Regions from separate parts of the Homo sapiens genome. Here regions 2 and 3 are each linked to region 1. The links are contacts of gene promoters, found by promoter capture Hi-C in blood cells and fetal thymus (Javierre and others, 2016). All regions are on one chromosome and are shown on one strand. Each heading gives the region's core, a stretch centred on a gene start or on the middle of the fragment in contact. The rest is flanking DNA. Distances are from core to core; before and after follow the strand shown. Region 1 holds the start of DARS1-AS1 (DARS1 antisense RNA 1). Region 2 has its middle 120 kb from the start of CXCR4. Region 3 has its middle 60 kb from the start of CXCR4.

The links. The method cuts DNA at HindIII sites, captures the fragments that hold promoters and counts their contacts. A CHiCAGO score of 5 or more calls a contact.
Region 2: a contact is called between a fragment that was not itself captured here and the fragment with the promoter of DARS1-AS1 in region 1, in 4 of 17 cell types (monocytes, activated CD4 T cells, total CD8 T cells and 1 more). The highest score is 8.0, in monocytes.
Region 3: a contact is called between a fragment that was not itself captured here and the fragment with the promoter of DARS1-AS1 in region 1, in 1 of 17 cell types (neutrophils). The highest score is 5.0, in neutrophils.

Annotation. Positions count from the first base shown.
Region 1 is chr2:135,983,916-135,986,438 of GRCh38, forward strand. DARS1-AS1 (DARS1 antisense RNA 1) reads left to right here and starts at 1,261. Exons shown (of 4, transcript NR_110199.1): 1 at 1,261-1,601. DARS1 (aspartyl-tRNA synthetase 1) reads right to left here and starts at 1,711. Exons shown (of 16, transcript NM_001349.4): 1 at 1,488-1,711. The coding sequence starts at 1,553. RefSeq lists a silencer at 1,348-1,407 and an enhancer at 1,458-1,557. The HindIII fragment of the contact is 7,953 bases long and covers 1-2,523 here.
Region 2 is chr2:136,233,942-136,236,464 of GRCh38, forward strand. No RefSeq gene overlaps it. Among named protein-coding and RNA genes, the nearest start is that of CXCR4, 120 kb to the left of the region's middle. RefSeq lists enhancers at 1,799-2,523, 2,095-2,523. The HindIII fragment of the contact is 883 bases long and covers 823-1,705 here.
Region 3 is chr2:136,176,624-136,179,146 of GRCh38, forward strand. No RefSeq gene overlaps it. Among named protein-coding and RNA genes, the nearest start is that of CXCR4, 60 kb to the left of the region's middle. The HindIII fragment of the contact is 1,862 bases long and covers 335-2,196 here.

The DNA of each region.
Region 1 (2,523 bases), core at 11-2,510:
ACAGTTTTTAGAAACTGGAGATGCTGGGTATAAGCTAACTACAACTTTCCTTTTGTAAAACATCATCAAAAAATTCACCAGCTTCCTGTTTCTAAAAACCAGATTCAGGATACCAGGTTACAGGAGTTTGACACTGACAATATAATAATATCAAATTTCTTGTTACAGATTAGAGTTAGGAACAGGAAACAGAAGACCTAGGGTCCAATCTGTTAACAAAATATACTTATTAAATAGATAAGTGGCCTTTATTTCAATCTTACTTTACCTCTAAAATGATCTAAGATTCTTCTAGCTATAAAATGGCATAACTCTGCCACAATGTCTACCTTGTATCTAGACCTATACTATCTGTAAGGGTACACTGATAGTTTATGTAATTAAGCAGATTAAGAGTACACAAAAATAATTGCCCTAGTTTTTACAAGGTAACTTAAGATCTGTATGAAACAATTAAGTTTCTGTCACTTTACAGCTACCTGTTGGAATCCTCTCCTTTAGAGCAGGAGGGTGCTGGATTTTGTGTTTACACCAAAATAAAACCAGACATGTTTAAGGCGCTTACTGAACAATTTAAAGAAAAAGATAACCCTGGCCAGAGTAGAGAGATACAGTCACACAATGAAGCCTGAGGGCAACAGAAGGAGATTAAATTGTGTGAAGGACAAAAAAGTTGCATTCATAATTAGTACTATTAATATTTCAGTGACTCTTCCTCATTTAGTATTCTAAGATGACCTTACTTCTCATGTTGCTTACCACAAACTCAGAACTCCTTATAGAAAAATTAGGGAGCCAGACGGAAATTAAGGCTTAACAGTACTACAGCACACATAACTTGTAGGATGGTTTCAAACTTTGATTTCTGAAAAGCACCGAAGGATCACTGGGTGTTATGAATTATCCACGTGATTTGGGGTCACTTCACCTCAAATGCATTCTCGGTAACTCCTATTACCTACCTTACCGGGTCACTGAGAGGGAGAAAGTAAATAAAAATGACATGTGTTCTTTAAAGCTGTCACATGGGAAATGGTCATTAAACATATTGGCAGATGGTTTTGCTAAGTACTGTCATTACTTGCTAAAGCATTAGGAACACGAGGGCTGAGTACATATCGATTACTAGTGCTTATTAAAATTTTCCCAGGGATTGTGCATTACGTGCAGGACGTGCCTAACCCAGAGAGACTCAAGTGTGACGCCGCGCTCCTACTTCCGGGGCGGCTGGTTCTTCCCGTCCTCCCCACCCCGGGGACACGCTTCTAGTAGGCCAAACTCCCAGGTGACCCCCGCAAGAAACGCGGTCCGGAGAGGGTCTGGCCCCACTGCTGGGGCAAGGGCTCTAGGCGCCCGGACCCCACGCCCGCAGCCTGCGGAGAACGTGCCGACAAGGACCTGTAGGGCCCCACTCCCCCTCCTCCCTCCCTCGGCGCAGCCCGGCCCAGGGGTCTGTCCTCCCAGGCCCAGGAAAGGAGGAAACCCACTTCCGCCGCGTCCATGATCTCCCGCGGCTTCTCCTGACTCTTGCGGCTGGCGCTGGCGCTGGGCATCGGGACACGGAACTGGGCAGTGGACACCACCCTCCCTCGCAGGCTTCCGTAAGGCAGGCCAAAGGGGCTTCTCCCTCCCTCCCAGTCTCCGCCCTCCCGACCCTGGGGTCTCAGCACACGCGCTCGGACTCCGCGTGGAGGTGCGGCTCCAGAAAGATCGCGAGAGCTGCGGCTATCTCGAGATCCCGGAGCGCTGGCGGCCGCGCGCAGGGTCTCCTCCCACTCTTGCCCCGCCCCTCCGGGAGTTTTCCCGGAGTTGGAGGGAATTCCCGGGAATTCGCGGTAGTTTCGCTGGATTGGCTCTGGGGGCGGGGGCAGGGGTTACCAGGTGGCTGGCTGTAGACCTGGGCGAATGCCAGCTCTCTTCAGCTTCGTCCCAACTGCGACTTCTGCTCCATTCTTCTAACAGCCCTTTCAACTCCGCTCGGCTGTAACCGCAGACTCGTCACTAAAACACCCACCTAAGCGCGGGCCTTGGTTTCTCCTCTCTTGGACTTTCCCGCCTTCTCTCTTCCCCTGGGCGACGTAGCTGCTTGGGGACGGAGGAGGCCTCTTCGCAATCCATTGCCCTGCTTGTTGGGACAGAGGAGTGCAGTTGGCTTGCCAAGGCAGCATGGGTTACCAGTCCCTGTGTAAGTGAGGTGTAAATACAGTGGCAACGACAACAAGAAACGCATACAATTGCATTGATTGCCTGGATCTGTTGCAGTGTTAGGGACAGTGCATAGTGTTGGTTGCCCAATGGGCGAATATCCCCAAGTTAGGCTTTTTTAAAAAACTGATTTTTTAAAAAAGCTATCATTCATGAGTTTTGAATCGAAATTGAAAATAATTTGGAGATTTGGTTTAATACTGTTTCCCCTGCCAGAGTTTGCACTCCGTCGTTTCAACTGACTTGGTAGTGTCTTAGTCTGGCACAAAGTGTTAAGGGGTGCACATAGATCCCAGCGCAAGTGAAAGGCTCTCTCTG
Region 2 (2,523 bases), core at 14-2,513, 250 kb after region 1:
TGAGGCTAGAGTGCAGTGGCACAATCTTGGCTCACTGCAACCCCTGCCTCCCAGGTTCGAGCAATTCTCCCGCCTCAGCCTCCCGAGTAGCTGGGATTACAGGCACCCACTATCATGCCCAGCTAATTTTTGTATTTTTGTAGAGATGAGGTGTCACCATGTTGGCCAGGCTGGTCCTGAACTCCTGACCTCAGGTGATCCACCCGCCTTGGCCTCCCAAAGTGCTGGGATTACAGGTGTGAGCCACTGCACTTGGCCCATTATTTTATTTTATTTTTAATCATAAATAGTATTACTTAGAGAATGATAAAAACAAAAACAGTAAGTGGTATTTTTTTCGAACACTCAGGATCGGAGAGGATCTGAGAAGCATGCTGTACATGTTTCCACCCCAAGGCCAATGTAGCATCCTTGCCTTAGCTTCCAATGTGCAAGAACAGCTGGCTATTCCTAGGGCTTTCCCACAAGCCCCAGACACACTGTTGTGAGGGGCGGCCACGTGGGTGTCACAGCTGGGAACTGGTTCTACTGTGGCCTGTCCCTTTTCAGGGATTGATTTGGGCTGTGTTACGGTAATCAAGCACAAACCAACAGTTATGTGGGATGTCTTATATATACCAAATACCCCTGCAGCTGGAACGCACTCAATTATCTTGACTGCCTTGGGGCTGAGCTGAGTGATGCAGCCAGGCCCTGTGCTAGGTGCGAAAGTGACTCAAAGGAGCCAGGCTGTGTGTTTCATGCTGTTTAGCAGTTTGCAAGCTAGTTGGGCTAATAATATGTGTGCATTCAAAGCTAACCAATATCAGAAGGCAGTATTTAAGCTTCAAATGAGTTTCTAGGAGGTAGAGAGGGTAGGAGGGCTGTGTAAGAAGGTGGTGTTTTGAGATGGGACTTGACCCAGGGTCTCCAATGGTGGCGAAGAGGAGGCAGGCCTTCCAGGGAAGGAAACAGCTTGCAGAAAAGCCTAGCAGTGGGAGTAAGTTTGGCTTGTGTATTTCATTTAGGGGTGGTGGGGAACTGAGTGATGGATGGGGACAGAGAAGAAAATGTGCAGCCGCGAATGGGAAAGTGATGGAGACGTGGGTATAGGCCAGGTCTGGGAAGGTTGTGAGAGCAGGACAAAGGTGGAGCCATGAACTGGAAGGTGGTATGGGCCCTTGTGTGGCTCTCAGGGGAGGAGGTGCTCTAATGTAACCACTCTGGGCCACAGATTCTTCCCATATGTGGAAATGTGGTATGAACCCTGTTAAGAACATGGGCCATGGGTGAGATGCTTGTGTTTGATTCCTGGCTCCACATCGTATCACCTGTTTGAGACTCAATTTCCTTATCTGCAAAATGGTGATAATGAAGCCCCTTCTCATAAAATTGTTCTGAGGATAAAGGAGATAATCCATATAAAGTGTTTAGCATAATGTCTGGCACATTGCATGTGTCTAATAAATCGCTGTTTTATGCAAATGAATATTAGTACTTATTTCATCAGTATGGTAAAAATGGTAGTAAATCTAGAAAAACCAAATATCAAAATAACTGGAAATTATTCTATTAAGAGAATGAACTTGAGAATGCTTCAGGGAGATCTTTGTTGGAAAGTCCCACTCCAATTCTACAATTTGGCTCCATTTACTGTGGCTTAGCTTTTGTGAAATATTTATGTTGGCAGGTTACTCAACTATAATTTTTGTTCGTTATCCCTCTAAGCTTGGTGAGGAAGATTAGTCTGTTTATCTTATATTGCAGAAGACACATGTAGATATAAATGCACTGCCATTTAGTTACAACATCTCTTCCATTAGCATTTACCGTGGTTGTCAGCCAAACTTCTATGGGGTGGAGGGGAAGAGAAGGGGACAAAGGGGTCCGTGAGTGACGGTGGTTGGGCAATTTTATACTGTGAAGAAGAAGGTGGTGGAAAATTTGGAGGCACCAGGGTGGTTTCTGCTTTGCCAGACTTAAGACTCAGCCTTGGAAGTCCTTGCAGAAGATTAGGAATGACCAAAATTGCTAAAACAAGACTGGCAAAGCAAACCAAATACCTCATACTCTTTAAAATATTAGTCATTCCTTCGGATGCTATAGTTTAAATTCTCCCTAATTAAAATTAACAACCTTTGGGGGACATTTGAGTGCCATTATCAGTGGACTTCTTAGTGGAGAATTATTTTCCAAGCCAAAGGACAACACCCCCAAACTTGGCTGCTACTTGACATTCCTGTGTGCCGGACTTACGTGAGTCTTTTTAACTAATGACAATGGTGAGCTGAGAAGGTCCTCCAGGGGATATGACTCACAGTGACTCAGGTGCACCAGAGCCTTGATCTAGCCCTATTGTTTTTCGTCAATAGGCCTTTGCCATGATCCAGCTGGAATATCAGTGGAATTGAGCTGGTCATGATAGAAAGAGAGGCCATTCAATGCCAATGCTCTTGTGAGATGCCTGGTAGTGCCGGTTACCTCTGCAGTGGCTGGCCCTGGTCTATGTGTGCTGTCTAACCACATAGATGATGGTGGCAGTGC
Region 3 (2,523 bases), core at 16-2,515, 190 kb after region 1:
GGCTAATTGTTGGGGTTCATTTGCTGGATCATGATGAGGCTGCAAACAGAAAAAGTGCATTACTCATGACAATTGGGTCGTTTGTGGAAAGGGAAGAAAGGACCCTGTCATTAAAGTTTGTTTCTCTCCTGCTTTCTAGATATGGGAATTCTGGAAAGAATCCACTCTCCTCAGAAAAAAAAAAGTCAGCTTGTTTTAATTCCTAAATGGATATGGTCCTGTGAACTAGGGGACTTGGGAGAAACGACTTCCCTGACTATGTAAATGTTTGTTTTTGCCTTAATGTGTTTGTCCATTTGCTTGACTGCTCAGAAGATAGTCATCTGAAAACACAAGCTTCAGGAGAAACTTTAAAAAACCCAACAACTAGTGCAAAAAAACCTACCACCCAACCCCTAAAACGAGAATACCAAACTGTGACCTCTCTCTCCACCTTCTTAGCCTGTACTTTAGTGCACTTTTCATAGAGAAGCCTCCACTTCCCAGTGGCCCCTTTGGGACAATGCCTTTGGCTGGGGCTTCTGAACACCCAGGTGGTTTCATGAAGTACCTCCATGTTATCCAGAACCAAGAGAAGACTTTTTCTTTCATTCCTTCCTCCCTTCCTCTCTCCTTCCCTCCGTCCCTTTCTCCTTTCCTTTTTCCTTTCCCCTTTCCATTTTCCCCTTTCCTGTTCCCTCTCCTCCCCTCCCCTTCCCTCCTTTTTCCTCCCCTCCCCTCCCTTTCCCTTTCCTCTTTCTTTTTTGGCAGCTCTTTGCACCCTAAGGAAATTTCTGGAATTCTGGTGACTTTCTGAGATCAAATGGCCTTTTTAACATCTCAAGTCTTTCAAAGTCCTTTGTTCCAGACTTTCACCCTTCAGTCTGAAGCAAAGGACTGATCAACACCAGCTGGACAGGCCCTTTGGGAAAACATCAGCAGGAGGGTTCACGGATATAGTCATGGGCTTAAAAAAGCCAAGACTGCTCTCTGGCCCTTCCTATCTGTTGTCTGCCTTCAATTTTGATGAAAAACACAGGGTTTAAAGTTGGTATGTTACTGGACTTCCTATGCCTCTGTAAAAATGTGGTTAATAATATTAGGTTGGAGCAAAAGTAGTTGTGGTCTTTGCTATTACTTTTAAATATCAAAAACTGCAATTACTTTTGCACCAACCTAATAGTAAGAAATTTATAGGATTAAATTATATATAGGTTGGGCGCGGTGGCTCACGCCTGTAATCCCAGCACTTTGGGAGGCCAAGGTGGGGGGATCACGAGGTCAGGAGTTTGAGACCAGCCTGGCCAATATGGTGAACTGCCATCTCTACTGAAAATACAAAAATTAGCTGGGTGTGGTGGCACACACCTGTAGTCCCAGCTGCTCGGGAGGCTGAGGCGGGAGAATCGCTTGAATCTGGGAGGCGGAGGTTGCAGTGAGCCAAGATTGTGCCACTGCACTCCAGCCTGGGTGACAGAGCAAGACTCCATCTCAAAAAAAAAAAAAGAAAGAAAAAATATAAATACATACAAAGGGTTTAGAACCATGTGGGAAGTTACTCAGTGAAATGCAGCCAGCATTGTTACTGTTGACCAGTTTATCATCCCAGAAAGAAGGTGGCAAATACAAAGACAGACATGGAGAGAATGAAGCTAAAGGAGGAACCCTGAGCCTAAGGTCATGCTGCAAAGCGTAGGGGGGAAAGGTATGATCTCTCACCCATCTTAAGGGTCACCACCATAACAAAAGCTAGGCTAACAAAGAAAAGCATAACAAATGTATTTAATCACGTGTTATGTGACATGGGAGCCTTCAGAAATGCAGACCCCAAAATCTAGGGAAATCTCTGTTTTTATGTTTAGGTTTCATGAAAAATGGACAGCTGTATAGAAATGTGATTGAACAAAAGGGTGTGATCTAATGGTCATGAAGCCGGAGACCCAGCAGGGCCTGTCCAGATTCTTCTTGGATTTTCTCTGTAACAGTCCCTCCCCTGGGGTATAAGTCAGGAACCTCTGAAATTAAGGTCTTCAAGGGAGAAGGGAGAGGGTGGCCTTTCTAGGTTTTTATGGCTTGCTTTTGGGGAAAGTGGTTCTAGTTTCTATGAGCCACCTTAGGGAAGAGGAATTCTGATTTCTATGACTTGCTTTGGCAGGGAAAATAAAGAGGGGTAAGAGATAGGAGAGCAGGAGAAGGTCAGAGAGTCCTTGCTTCTGAAGCTTTCCAATTTCCTTCAGTTCAAAGTACTTAGCATGCTCAAGCGCCATACTTCGGGGTATCATTTTCTGAGCCCCAGTGCAAGTCAAGGCAATTGAACCAAGATGGTGTCAGATCGTTTGATCTGGTCCATCCATTGGGCATGGGAGGGAGGCAGCCACAAAGTCTTGGTGAAAATGGGGTGAGAGATGGGCCTTTGTGAAATAGGGATAGAGATCTGAACCCTGCAGGGTTCCTAAATGGATGAGCAAACCAACTGGAACTTGTCACTAGTTGGCTCTGGCTAAAGGTGACTATAATAATAACCTTCTTTTACGATAGCTGGGT